Linked DNA regions of Homo sapiens: region 2 is linked to region 1. Evidence: promoter capture Hi-C in 16 types of primary human blood cells and fetal thymus (Javierre and others, 2016). All regions are on one chromosome and are shown on one strand. Each heading gives the region's core, a stretch centred on a gene start or on the middle of the fragment in contact. The rest is flanking DNA. Distances are from core to core; before and after follow the strand shown. Region 1 holds the start of MYL4 (myosin light chain 4). Region 2 overlaps KPNB1-DT (KPNB1 divergent transcript).

What was found. Contacts are between HindIII fragments. The CHiCAGO score rates a contact against its expected background, and 5 or more counts as called.
Region 2: a contact is called between a fragment that was not itself captured here and the fragment with the promoter of MYL4 in region 1, in 1 of 17 cell types (erythroblasts). The highest score is 5.2, in erythroblasts.

What each region holds. Positions count from the first base shown.
Region 1 is chr17:47,205,527-47,212,890 of GRCh38, reverse strand. It overlaps MYL4 (myosin light chain 4), which reads right to left and starts at 3,543. Exons shown (of 7, transcript NM_002476.2): 1 at 3,334-3,543. The coding sequence starts at 3,468. RefSeq lists an enhancer at 7,240-7,339. The HindIII fragment of the contact is 17,980 bases long and covers 1-5,170 here.
Region 2 is chr17:47,624,576-47,631,939 of GRCh38, reverse strand. It overlaps KPNB1-DT (KPNB1 divergent transcript), which reads left to right. Exons shown (of 4, transcript NR_171700.1): 3 at 5,313-5,393. Among named protein-coding and RNA genes, the nearest start is that of KPNB1-DT, 21 kb to the left of the region's middle. The HindIII fragment of the contact is 4,831 bases long and covers 968-5,798 here.

The sequences.
Region 1 (7,364 bases), core at 2,294-4,793:
GGACCAACAGACCAAACCAAAATAGATTCACTCATGCTGAAGTTCCATGTCACCAAGCTGAAACTAAGTTGTTCATCTGATTTTCCAAGAAATCAGGAAAATAAGAGATAATAGCCAAATCCCCAAACATGACAGTTTCAGCCAGCTTGATAAGAAAGTGCCATCTGCTTTAACCTTTACAAGAAAAGTAACTTTGCAATGAACAATTTGCATTTTGCTCTCATTTCTGCTTACCTCAGCCTTTCTTTGTCTATAATACCACCTCCTCTGCTCGGCTCATTGTTGCCAGATTCTAGACTCAAACATAAAAGCCAATTCAGATCTTTAAACTAAAATGCCTTCTAATTTTGTCTTCTGACACACTCTTAGGCACTCTGGGACAGCAAGAGCAATTGGCATGGGCCCTCCACGCTTCCTAATTGTTTCCAGTCATGCCTTTACGTGCACTCTGTCTCCTTGAAGCCACTGCTCCCTCAGGCAAGGATTCTTGTTATTGTTCACTGAAATGCTCAGTACATAGTAGGCACTGAAAAACATTTGTTGAATGAAGTAATACATTTTAGATTTCCCCCATATAATGCATAGTAATTTAATGCTGAGTACAGAAGAGGAGAGTGAATGACAATGGCCAAGCATAAGTCATCATTTTATTTTATTTTTTATTCTTATTTTTTGAGATGGAGTTTCGCACTTGTCACCCAGGCTGGAGTGCAATGGTGTGATCTTGGCTCACTGCGACCTTCGCCTCCCAAGTTCAAGCGATTCTTCTGCCTCAGTAGCTGAGATTACAGGCACCCGCCATAACGCCCAGCTAATTTTTGTATTTTTAGTAGAGACAGGGTTTCACCATGTTGGCTAGGCTGGCCTCGAACTCCTGACCTCAGGTGATCCACCTGCCTCGACCTCCCAAAGTGCTGAGATTACAGGCGTGAGCCACCACACCCAGCCCAAGTCATCATTTTGATTTAAGATCTTGTATGTTACCTCGTGGTCCTTATGCACCCCACCCCACCCCATCCCATCCCATCCCCTCTCCACTGGTGGTGGTTCCAATCCTGGAGCCTCTTCTTCAAGTGCCGTCATTCCTAGTCCTAATTCTGCTGCTGCTTGTGCTGTGCCCATCCTGTCTCATCTCCGAGAACTGACCTCCATTCATGAGGACCCAGATATGGCAGCCATGAGCTGGGGATAGGTTGGGGCAGTGGGGAGTTAACTGGGTTGGAAAGAAAACTAGTTGTGGCTAGGAATAGACTGCCAAAAGTAGGGGGTGGTCAGAAAGTTAAAGGAACCCCCTAGATGGGGTGAAGGATGCTCTGCATTCACTCTCTGAGGAAAAGGCACAGTTTGCCTTACTTTACAATGCTTTAAGAACCAGGAATAAACATGTAAGAGCAATTAATGTAAAAACTTAAAATCTCAATAGACGTGGTCCTAACTACACACACTGGGCTTAAGTTTGCTTCTGTTCTATCTTCGAATCTTTTTTATAATTTATTTATTTATTTGTAGAGACAAGGATCTTGCCATGTTGCCCAGGCTGGACTCAAATGCCTGGCCTCAAATTACCCTCCCGCCTCAGCCTCCCAAAGGGCTGGGATTATAAACATGAATCACCTCATCTGGCTTCTCTTCTGTCTTGGAGTAAAGAACCTTCTAATCAAAGGAACTGGGTAAGTATAACACAATAATAGGGAAAATGTCTCTCATAAAAGATACCTATTTTTTTTCTACTTCAAAGCAACTTCAACAACCCCCATGAAGATGCAGATATGGAAAAGAGGATTGCAACCAGGGGTGCAATTTCTCACGGGTGAGAAATTGAGAGAGGAGAGTGAATGAAAGAAGTGACAGGCCAAGGGAAGGACACCAGTTTGATGCCACTAGGCAGCTGTTGCCCAGACACCAGGGACAAGGCCTGGCAACCCACCCAAAGGCACAGTGCTTTATGGGAACAAATCAGAAATAAAGGCGAGGAGGGATCCTGAAGGGTGAAATAGTCAGCTTTTCCTGCCAGGCTCAGCTTGTAAATGGAGTGATGTATGACCTAGAAAACCTGCAGGTGTTTTCAGGGTCCTACAGTAGCCTCAGTTTCCCCAGAGTGAGCCATAACCAAGCTCAGAAAAGGGACAATTGCCTCCATCTCTTGGCTAAGCAGTTCCTGTCCCTTGCGGGGACTGGGTCTTTGGCATAATACTTGTAGGGTTATCCCGGCTGTGGGTATGAGAGGAATTCTCAGAGGGCAGGGAGGTCATACAATTAGAGCTCTGGGTTTTAATTTCCCTGCCTGCTTGTCACAGAACCTTGTCCTGTGCTCTTATTTTGACCTGATCCCTCACCACCCCCAGCCCTGTCCTAAGGCTGAGATCCCTGGGGGCTCAGCACTCCCAACCTGTTATTAATAGCTCTTCATACCAGTAGCCACTTGACCTTTTCCACTCTGGTGCCAAGGCTTAAAACTGCTCCTCTTCAGAGGTCTCTGGCCCCCTCCCTCTTCAGCCCACCCCTCTCCCACCAGTTCCATTCCTTCAGCAGCTGGGCCAGAGAGCTGGGAGGTCTAAAATGACTGAGTCAGCATGCAGGGCCCACACCAGCTCCAGGGAGAGGAATGTTTTGTGTGAGGAGAGCAGGGTGGGGCAAAGGAACCAGGCCCAGCTTCCTGACCCGGTTGGAGAGAGGGTCTCAGCCCAGGGTGGGCCAGTCCTCTGCATGCTACAGATAGGAACCCAGGCTAAGGCCACAGAAGGAAAGGCCCGTCTGGGTAAGGAAAGAGAGAGAGGAATCCGGGCTCCTCTTACCTTAACCACAACCTCCTTCCCACCCTGCCCTCACCTGCCGTAAGAGTGTTTGTGAGTGAAGCCTTTCCCAAACTGCCATGCACAGGGAGGATATTCCCTGACTGTTTATATCACTTACTCCAAGTTACACTGGCAGCTGCCATGATCTGTCTGTTCTCCATAAAGATATCCCACTACCTCCTAGGAAAAGGCTAGTCTGTTTTACTTTGCTATGGTGGTCCTCATAATGCCTTATAAAAGGGTGGATGGATGGTTGGTTGTACCTCCCCCCATTCCCAACTTAGCTGCACAAATCTAGGGTAGCAGGACAGGGCTCCCTCAAAGCAGCACCTCATTCTTGACGGAAAAGGTTTATGACTCAATCTCCCCCTCATCAGCCCCAACACCCACTCCACTGCCCCATGGGACTGCGATCTGGGGCATGGACACCCTAGTCCTCATCCCAGTCCAGCCCACATAAAGTAGATCGCTAAGCTCCAGAGCAAAAGGACTCTCAATGTCATCCCCACCTCTATCCCAATGGCTGAGCCTCACTTACCTTTACACTCTTGGGGTCAAAGGCAGGTTCCTTGGGAGCCTCAGGAGCTGGGGCAGGGGCTGGTGCAGGGGCTGGAGCTGGAGCTGGAGCTGGCTTGGCTGCCTCCTTCTTAGGCTCAGGCTTCTTGGGAGCCATGTTGTCTTGTTGGGATCTTTGGCAGAGGAGTGATCTAAGAAGAAACCGAGAGACGTGGCGTCTGGGAGATGAGATAGGAGCCTGGGCTGCCTCCCTTCCCTTTTATCCTGGGCAGGAGCCCCCACAGAGGGGCTGGGTGAAAGCAAGAGCAACTGCTGCTGACTATAAAAGGAAGAAACGCCAGCAGGGTACAGCTGACAACTGTGTATTGTCACCAGGTTTGGGGCCACCAGCCCCCTCCCCTTCATGCCACAGCTCTCTCTTCACCTCTAGGACAGGCTGATCCCTTCTTGCCAATTGGTGGAAACCCAGAAGGACCAGGGAAACAGACCTTCTCAAATATGCCGGAGCAGCCAGAGAGATGAGCTGACTTGAGCAGTTGATAAGCCTCACACAAAGCCCAGGGGAGGGTGAGGCTTTTTTTAGCCCCTCCCGAGCAGAGGCAGCCCACTGCACATTCCTTCTAAGCCAAGATCCTTTAAGCTGAGAGCCACTCTGGGCCCTCAGCTCTGCCTAGAGGCCCAACTCTCCAGGCATGGAGCTCTGAAGCAACAGCTGGTCCAGCCAACCCACACTGCCCCACACCCTCCCAACTCACAGGATGAAAGCCTCCATTTTCCAGAGCAGGCATCCCAGGAACTCCACAGACCTCAGATCCCTAGATCTACCCCCTTACACACAACCTCAGTCATTCATTCAACAAGTAGTGAGCACTGAACCCATGCCTAGGCACCTAGGAGAGAAGCAGAGAGATGTGGTAGAAAGTCGAGGAGACTGAGGGTCAGAAAACTTGGGGTTTAGTTTTCACTTTACCTCTAACTCATTCTGTGCTCTGTGTGTGTGTGTGTGTGTGTGTGTGTGTGTGTGTGTGTAGTGCTTACTACTATCAGTACCAGGAACTGTTAAGTGCTATTCATATAAAATCTCATTAAATCTTCACCATGATCCTATAAGGTAGATACTATTTTGTTTGTTTGTTTGTTTTAACAGAAACAAGGTATCGCTCTGTTGCTCAGGTTGCAGTGCAGTGGTGCAATCACAGCTCACTGCAGCCTCGTCTTTCCTGGCTCAAGCGATTCTCCCACCTCAGCCTTCCGAGTAGCTGGGACTACAGGTGCACACCAGCACACTTGGCTAATTTTGGGGGAGTTTTTTTGTTTTTTGTTTTTCAGTAGAGATGAGGTCTTGCTAAATTGCCCAGGTTGGTCTTGAACTCCTGAGCTCAAGGGATCCACTAGCCTCGGTCTTCCAAAGGGCTGGGATTATAGGCATAAGCCGCCACGCCAGGCCAGGTAGATACTATTATTATTTTCACTTTACACATGGGGAGATTGAGACTAAAACTGGATGAACAACTTGGCCAAGGTCACTCAAATAATTAGCTATAAGCTGGGATTAGATGTAGATATGTCTGAGTCTAAAGCCTATGCTTGAATAATGTATATGATAATCCAGTTGTCGGGGAGAGACATACAAGTTTCTGCATTTATTGGAGGAGTCAGGATGGATACACGCTGAACTGTTAACAGAGACACCTCTGGGGACCTAGGGGGTAAGGGTGGGAGGATAACAGCAATTTGCAGTTTTTTACTTTTTTCACTTCCTGTATTAATGGAAATTTTTATAACGAGCATTTACTGTTTATGTAAAAAAAACTTTGAAAGTCAACAAAATAATTCAGAAAAATAACAACAAAAAAGCTTATGTATCCACTACACAAAACTGCTTTGTGCTGAATCTTTAGACTCTACAGTTCAGAGGAAAAGAGGAATAAAGCTGAGAGAGGCAAAAAAATCACTTCGCCTTTCTAGGCCCAGTTTCCTCACCTGTAAAGCAAGATTGCTAGACTACAGAATCCTGGTTGCTGTTAGCTCCTAAGCCTGCAATTCTGGGTGCCCTGGAGCCCACATCTGCCCATTTCCCAGCTCTCTAACTACAGGTTCCATGCCCCAGATCATTGCCTTCAGAGCCAGAAGGACCCTTAGAGATCATCTGGCCCCATGCTGTTTTACAGGCAAGGAATCTAAGGTCCAGGGAAACGTTGAAGTTGCCTCAAGACATTCAGCTACTTATAGGCAGAGCTGGGCCAACTAATTCTGTTTCCTGGGGTGCAGTGCTCTCTGTAGCACACTGCTCTTCACTGCTCCTCCTGTAGCCTATACACGCTCACTGGTGGTGACAGAGAAGCCCTCAAAGGAAACGGGCAGGAAAAAGGGCCAGGACTTGCTCAAGGGAATACTAGAACGAGACCAGGGCCCAGATTCTAGCCCAGCCCTGGTCCTGAGCTGGGATGGTGGCTCCTTTGCTCTGTGCACCTCACCTCCTCCCCTCATCTTCTGCCTCACCTCTCTTCCTTGCCGGCTACCAAACTTGATTCCTTGTACCTTCGCTCGCACTCTTCTATAATCCCTGTCAGTCCTCTCCTTGACCTACCCCATTCCCCACAGGGGTTGGGAGTTCAGGTTGTTGGTGACGAGGAAAGAGAAAAAGTGGAAGCCCAGGCCCTCCTCCTTCTCCACCTCCACCTGCATCCCTTCCTGGACTGCATCCTGCGGAGTTTGTGCAAAAATATACAAACTGGGATTTCTGTAAAGAGCTGCAGGATAGAAGCTGGGAGACCCAGGCACTAGTCCTGACTCTGCCAGCCACTTCCTCTCTCTGGGCCTCAGCTTGCTTATTTTAAAAGGAAAAACAATCAGGAGACTTTCAAACCATGTTCAACAGAATCCTGAGACTAGCAATCTTGCTATCTTGCTTTATAGGGTGACATGCTTCTGGCTGCAGGGTACATAGAAAGGCCAGACCTTGGAGCTCCTTCCACCACCATCACTTCAGTCACCACCACTCCTGTGTTTTACATACTGGAGCTCCCAGTATGTAAAACAGTATCATTTTCTAATGGTTCCATGGCTTAAAATTTTTTTAAATAATCACTGAATGACACATGCCCCCTTCCAGTTAAAACACACACGCACACACAACAAGTTAGTATTATGTTATTGTTGTAGTTATTCTACAAAGACGTATGATCCTCAGAAGAAAAAGCTGGAAGGTTGTTCTTTCCTTTTCTTCTTTTCCTTTTTTCCCCCACCCCACTCCCCTTTCTTTTCTAAATTCTAAGAAGCAAAATATCAGGTCTGCATGGGAACAGAGCTATGAGGTTAGAAAGCTGGGAAAGCCGAATGGGGCTCCGGAGACATCCAAAATCACGCAAATACTGTGGACTCTGGAGGTAGACAGTGATGGGTCTGAAGCCTGGTTTTGCCACTTTCTAATCTAGGCCTTAGTAGCCTCAGGACCTTTGAGGATAAACATTTCCTTTTCAAATTGTCATGAGATTTGTATGAAATAATGTTAAGTAAGGCACTGCAAACAACCTCTGCCATGTAGGAAACATTCGAAGATGTTCATTTCACTTTCCTTTGCCAAGCAGGTTGAAGCTAGAGGTGCATTCAGGCTTCCCAGATTTGGAACTTCCAGAGAGAGGTCCACATGAGAAAGGGACAAGGTAAGGTGACAGTGGCTAAAGGGATTTTAAGGTGTGGGATTAGGAATGAGGAAGAGGTGGAAAGGAATGGAAGCGGGGGGAAGGGCAGCAGCTGGGAACTCATGGTGTAAAATATTTGTGGCTCAGAAAGCATGTGGCAAGTCTCTAGGGCCAGGCAGCCTGTCTGACGGAGAACACTCAGAGAAGGCATGCCCAACCACCTGAAACCTTAGGCACAGGAGCCCCAGCAGGGGAGGAGACGCTCCTCAAATCAGTTTCGGATTCGTTTTCAGCAGCCCCAGTGAAAAAAGTGCCTGGCACTTCAGAAACAACTGGAGGAGAGCTGTGGTTTCAGGGAAAGAGCCATGCATGAAGAAGCAACATATCAACCCCTGGCCTTGTTTTTACT
Region 2 (7,364 bases), core at 2,134-4,633, 420 kb before region 1:
TCCTCTTTTTTTTTTTTTTGAGACAGGGTCTTGCTCAGTCACCCAGGGAGGAGTGCAGTGGCTGGACCACATCTCATGTACCTGAACTTCCTGGGCTCATGCGATCCTCCCACCTCAGTCTCCCAAGTAGTTGGGACTATGGGCGCATGCCACCACGCCTAGCTAATTTTTTTTTTTAAGTAGATACTGGGTCTCACTATGTTACCTAGGTTGGTCTTGAACTCCTGAGCTTAAGCGATCCTCCCACCTCAGCCTCACAAAGCGCTGGGATCACAGGTATGAGCTACTGCACCCAGCCCATCTTGGATTTCTTTTGCTTTTTTTTTTGAGACAGAGTTTTGCTCTTGTTGTCCAGGCTGGAGTGCAATAGCACTGCCTCGGCTCACTGCAACCTCCATCTCCCAGGTACAAGGGATTCTCCTGCCTCAGCCTCCCGAGTAGCTGGGATTACAGGCGCCCGCCACCATGCCTGTCTAATTTTTTTGTATTTTTAGTAAAGACGGGGGTTCACCATGTTGGCCAGGCTGGTCTCGAACTCCTGACCTCAGGTGATCTGCCTGACTCGGCCTCCCAAAGTGCTGGGATTACAGGCGTGAGCCACCGCGCCCAGCCCTCTTTTGCTTTCTTAAATAGGTCTGCTTCCTTCTAACTACAGGCCCGTTGCACATGCTGTTTCTTCTGCTAATAACACTTTTTCTCTCCTCTTTGCCTGGCAACTACTCATCTTTCATGTTTCAGTTTAACATTTCTCCAGGGAGACTTTCCTGAACCTTCAGGCTACTTTGAACTGTCTGGTATAGCACACTAAACTTCCCACTCCAGAGTTGGCACACTTAAAATTACTCATTCGATATCTCTTGTCGCTGCTAGATTGTAAGCTCCATTAGGGCAGAGACCAAGTCTACCTTATTTGATACTGTAGCCTCAATATCTAGTATAATAGGCATTTCCTTCTGCAGTAAAAGCTTTTGCAACTATGTAGTGTCTGCCATCTGAATCCCATAGCCATTGAACAAATCCATCAGAACCTTGCCTTGAATACTGCACTCAGGTTTAATGCTGTGGGGCTTTTCTGATAAGGTTCTTGTGATAACCAAGGTCTTTTGATCAGTGGCCAAAATGCACACCCGTCCCATCAGATAGCAGCCTGTGAGGCTGGAGCACAGTGCTGCTGTATTATTTGATAATGACTAGAAAAGGCTGGTCCCCTTCTCACCAGCCTTCTGTGATGCTTATGTACCAATGAGAACGTTTGCCCAGCATCTTAGTGGGGATGGCTAAGTTTGGATCCTAGAGAACAGGAACATTTAAAGCTACCTAGATTATTCCTATCTCAGGTCTTTCCTGGGTTTAGTGCACACTTGGGGCATTTCTGGATGGATGGCACATTTGTTTTATTTGTTGGAAGCAGTGAGGTGTAGTCACCAAGTTAACAGGGGTAAGCCTAGGAGTCAGGGCAACACAGTTGCTCAGGCTGGCGTGGCAGGTGTCAGCAGGTAAGCAAGCCCCAGTGGGAGGAACGCATGGCCTCATTCAACAGTGTCAGCAAGCTGAAGTCCCTGCACATTGGGAACCTATGAGAAGAATACCCTCACCCCCCTTTTTTTCAAACCAGTCACATCTCTCTTCACCAAAATCTTTGTGAAATTCATCATCATATAACTTCCTGAATCTAGTTAATGGTGATATTAACCAAAATTTGTAGCTCAACACCCAGGCAACAGTGTATAGGATTGCAAGTGTTAGTTCCAAATATAGTGCAGTTCACATCTCCAGTGAGGGAAGTACATTGAGTGAATTCATTACATGAGCCACTTAAACTAATTGAACCAGGAACTTAAAGTCACGTTCTTCAAATGTGTGCAGTCCACAAAACTGGCATTTAACATCAGGAAGTCAGGCTGGAAAACATTCATGAACCAGTGACTCTAAACAAGGAAGAAACACTTCTCAAGGTATGCATTTGCCAGCTGTTACTTTGTTCACAAGTAGTCTTTGGTGATTAGCTTCGTGACTTAGGACACGGGTGGCAGCTCTGAGCATGGCACATTTAGTTTCATACAGCAAAGACTGAAAACACGTGGCACTGGTTACGTGGTCAGACAAGTGAAGGAGGCACAGCCTATCTTCATTACTAAAAATATTCAAAATGCATAGAGTATAAAAACGTAGAGGAGTTTGTAAGAAGAGAGTCACTTTTTTTTCCTTCAATTTTTGGAAAATGAATACGACATGTATTACATTCATGAAAAATAAAATTTTAAATGAATAGGGGTTAGTGATAAAATGTTCTTAGGTGATCAGCAATTTGTTACAAGATTAGTAAAAATGTAACTTTGTTTTTTGGAGACAGGGTCTCATTTTGTTGCCCAGGCTCTATAGTGCAGTGGCACGAACATGGCTCACTGCCGCCTCCACCTCCTGGACTCAAGTGATCTCCCAACCTCAGTCTTCTAAGCAGTTGGGGCTACAGGTGTGTGCTACCACACTCAGTTAATTTTTTCAATCTTTTGTAGAGACAGAGTCTCACCATGTTGCCCAAGCTATTACTTTCAGTGATACACAAAAAAATACACTTGGATATATGAGGTGTAGCTCAGGGTGGTCCAATAGAACTTTCCTGAGTGATGAATATGATTTATATCTGTGCTGTTCAATACAGTAGCCACTAGCCTTATGTGGCTGCTGCGCAGTTGATTTGTGGCTAGTGCAACCAGGCAACTTTTTTCTTGAGACAGAGTCTTGCCCTGTTACCCAGGCTGGAGTGCAGTGGCATGGAGTGCAATCTCCGCCTCCTGGGCTCAAGCAATTCATCTGCCTCAGCCTCCTTAGTAGTTGGGATTACAGGCATGCGCCTGGTTAATTTTTGTATTTTTAGTAGAGACGGGGTTTCACCATGTTGTCCAGGCTGGTCTTGAACTCAAGTGATCCACCTGCCTTGGCCTCCCAAAGTGCTGGGATTACAGGCATGAGCCAGCCCCAAGCAACTTTTTATTTAATTCTAATTAATTTAAATAGCTGTGAATGGCTAGTAGCTACTGTATTGGTCACATAGGTCTTCCATTTGCTGAGAGTAAGAAATTAAGAGAAGGCCAGGTTTGGTAGCCAAGAGATCTAAGTCATGTACTATTTCGTTGTTTATCCAATAGTCTGTCTACTCTGTTACTGTTATAAGAATGAACTAAGAGGCCAGGCGCAGTGGCTCACGCCTGTAATCCCAGCACTTTGGGAGGCCCAGGTGGGCGGTCAGGAGTTCAAGACCAGCCTGGCCAGCATGGCGAAACCTCATGTCTACTAAAAATACAAAAATTAGCCAGACAGGTGGTGCATGCCTGTAAGCCCAGCTACTTGGGTGGCTGAAGGTGGGAGAATCGCTTGACCCTGGGAGGCGGAGGTTGCAGTGAGCCAAGATCACGCCATTGCACTCCAGCCTGGGCAACAGAGCAAGACTCCATCTCAAAAAAAAAAAAAATGAACTAAGGCGGGGCAAGATGGCTCATGCCTGTAATCCCAGTAACTTGGGATCACGTGAGCCTAGGAGTTCGAGACAAGCCTGGGCAACATGGTGAAACCCCACCTCCACAAAATTAACAAATTAAATTAGTGGGTGTGGTGGCACACACCTCTAGTCCCAGCTACTCAGGAGGCTGAGGTGGGAGGATCCCTTAAGCCCAGAAGTTCAAGGCTGCAGTGAGCCAGGATCGCACCACTGCGCAGTGAGCCAGGATCGCACCACTGCACTCCAGCCTGGGTGACAAAGAGATCATCTCAAGACAAAAAAGAAGAAAACAAAGAACTTCTTTACACTTGTAGAGGGCACAGTATTAACTTCATCCTATCACATCCCTTTACATTCTGACTTACAAGTGCTCTGCTGATAGAAGAGGAAATTGACCTGTTAGAAAAGCAACAGCAATCTCATCCATTCTCATTCATCTCAAATATTTTAAGTGCTTTGTACATTTTCTTGTAAGTTGTTTCCTTCCATCTCCCTTCTATTATTTTGTATGGTGTTCTTGAGACTTCTCCCACTAACCTAATAGCCACTCCACATACTGATTTTTTCTTCTCCTTATTTTTATTACTATTATTTTTGTTTGTTTGAGACAGGGTTTTGCTCTCACCCAGGATGGAGTGCAGTGGTGCCATCCTGACTCACTGTAGCCTCAACTTCCTGGGCTCCAGCGATCCTCTTCCCACCTCAGCCTCCTGAGTAGCTGGGACCACAGGCATATACCACTATGCCTGGCTAATTTTTTTGTATTTTGTATAACGAGACGGGGTTTCGTTATGTTGCCCAGGCTGGTCTTGAACTCCTGAGCTCAAGCAATCCACCCACCTCGGCTTTCCAAAGTGCTGGGATTACAGGCATGAGCCACCCCCCCGGCCCTATTATTGAGACAGGGTCTCACTGTCACCCAGCCTGGAGTGCAGTGGTGTGACCATAGGTCAGTGCAGCCTAAGCCTCCTGAGTAGCTGGGACTACAGGCACATGCCAACATGCCCAGCTAATTTTTTTTCTTTTAGTAGAGATGGAGTTTTACCATGTGGCCAAGGCTGGTCTCAATCTCCTGAGCTCAAGTGATCCTCCCACCTTGGCCTCCCAAAGTGCCGGGATTACAGGTGTGAGCTACCATGCCTGCACCTCCTTAACTATTTTTTATTTTTTTGAGATAGGGTCTTGCCTTGTCACCCAGGCTGGAGTGCAGTGGCATGATCTCGGCTCACTGCAACCTCCTGCTGGGCTCAAGCGATTCTCCTGCCTCAGCCTCCCAGGTAGCTGGGACTACGGGAGCATACCACCACACCCAGCTAATGTTTGTATTTTTTGTAGAGATGGGGTTTCACTATGTTGTCCAGGCTGGTCTCAAACTCCTGGGCTCAAGTGATCCGCCTGCCTCAGCCTCCCAAAGTGCTGGGATTACAGGCGTGAGCCACGGTGCCTGGCCCCCTGCTTAACTTTAAAAGTACAGGCTAATAAACATTAAGGAAGAGAATGTCCAGATGAGTACAAATAATGCAAGGTAATCAGTGCCCTATTAAGAGTTGCCCAGAATTGCAGTGTAACGTAATACACCTGTAAAATTTGTCAAATTGGTGATGAAGGTTAAAGGTGGTTAGAGTAGGGGTAGGGGATGTCTCAGAGGACCATATTGGTACTGTCAGCCAAACCACGGCAAGGATTATTTTTTTCTTCCTGGTAGTCATCTTAATTGATGTATAGTATATCTGCTGTTAGCTGCTACAACCTCCCTGAGAAAGCACAGATCATGACAGTAAACTATGTTCATTCTCTGCCAATTCCTCCCCAGTGTTGGAAACAGAAGCCCAGTAGTGAAAGCTACAGCTGCCATATACTTGCAGTGGAATCACAGGAGCAATCACAGGTCTTTGTAAGTGGCAGTAACAACTCACTTGACTTTCCTTCACCTGACACTGTCACCTATCACAACACTGGCCATCAAACTGGTAGAACAACCAGTCCTCTGATTTGGTTTCCTAGGGAAGGCAGTTGTTCGGCTCAATGTTTTGTTAACATCAAGGCTCTTATTCTTGCATTTGAAACCAAACACCTCAATCATTTTGCTTGCACCAGGGTTGGTACAAGAAGGCACGGTCCTTCTTGGGTGGGTATTTTGCATTGTCACAAATACTCTTATTTAGAGAAAACCAACTCTGAAACCCTAAAACTAGTATCTAGTAAAGGAAGAGATTCAGTTCTATCAAGCAATATATTTTTCAGTCAAGAGTGACGCTGTAAGTATAGATTCAGCAGTATAAACATATTACCAAAAGCTTGGATTTTTATTTATGCATTTTATTTTTGAGATGGAGTTTCGCTCTTGTTGCCCAGGCTGGAGTGCAATGGCGCGATCTCGGCTCACTGTGACCTGCGCCTCCCGGGTTCAAGCAATTCTCCTGCCTCAGCCTCCCAAGTAGCTGGGATTACAGGCATGCGCCACCACACCCGGCTAATTTTTTTTTTTTTTTTTTTTTTTTTAGTAGAGACAGGGTTTCTCCATGTTGGTCAGGCTAGTCTCAAACTCCCGACCTCAGGTGAACTGCCCGCCTGGGCCTCCCAAGTGCTGGGAATACTGGCGTGAGCCACCGCGCCTGGCCTGTTTATTTTAAAATTAATTGTTTTTTTTTGAGAGGGAATCTTGCTCTGTTACCCAGGCTGGAGTGCAGTGGTGCAATCTCAGCTCACTGCAACCTCTGCCTCCTGGGTTCAAGTAGATTCTCTCACCTCAGACTCCCGAGTAGCTGGGATTATAGGCATGCACCACCACACCGACTAATTTTTGTATTTTTAGCAGAGACGGGGTTTCGCCATGTTGGCCAGGCTGGTCTTGATCTCCTGACCTCAGGTAATCCACCTGCCTTGGTAAGTGTTGGGATTACAAGCATGAGCCACTGTGCCCGGCCCACTTGCTTTTATTTAATAACTTGCTAAAAAATAAAAACAAAAAACATTAGCACTTACATGTGGCTCCATGATGTCTTTCTGGTAATTCTGGAAACTTTTTGGGTTATAGAATTTGAAGAATCTATTTAGAGCTATAGAACTCCTCTTAATCCTCCCCAAGTTGTACTCAACAGATTTATTCCTTGCTCCCTAAAACCTATCCTTAGAAATTGCAAGTTGAGAATTCACCCCACCACTGCCCACTGTTCCAAAAAGCTTTACTGAATCTCATTAATGAAAAATAATGTAAAACTCTCCATAGGAGGCATTAACATACTTGTTTCTTCCAAACCTTCTGATTTCCACTAAAATTTGTAACCAAAATATATTAGGAAAAAGTAATTAAGCTTTAATGCTATTGCCTGGCCCAGTCTAACTATGATCTTTTAATTGTGGAGACATGGCAGTTCCCTGAAAGACCACAGCCTTTGGAGACTAGCAAACCTGGCTTGATCACTGGTTGATAGTTATTTTGCTGTATTAATTTGCCTTACTTTTCTGAGTCTGCATTCTCATCTGTAAAATGGGTGTATGACTTATGATAGGGAGCTATTTGAAAAACAAAACATCTGACACAGAAAAGGCTGAATTAAAACCTTTAGAGACCCAAAGCAGCAGGGCTATTGTGCCCAAATCACTCAAGGTATTGGTAGGAAAGAACACAAACTGAGGAAGGTTTAATAAAGGACTATTTACAGAGACATGGACAGAGTGCAGGAAAATCAATGAAGAATAATGGCGTAATCCAGGGCTGGTAACTAAGTCCTTTTTTTTTTTTTTTTTTTTTTTTTTGAGACAGTCTCGCTCTGTTGCCCAGGCTGGAGTGCAGTGGCACGATCTCAGCTCACTGCAGCCTCTGCCTCCCAGGCTCAAGCAATTCTTGTGCCTCAGCCTCTCA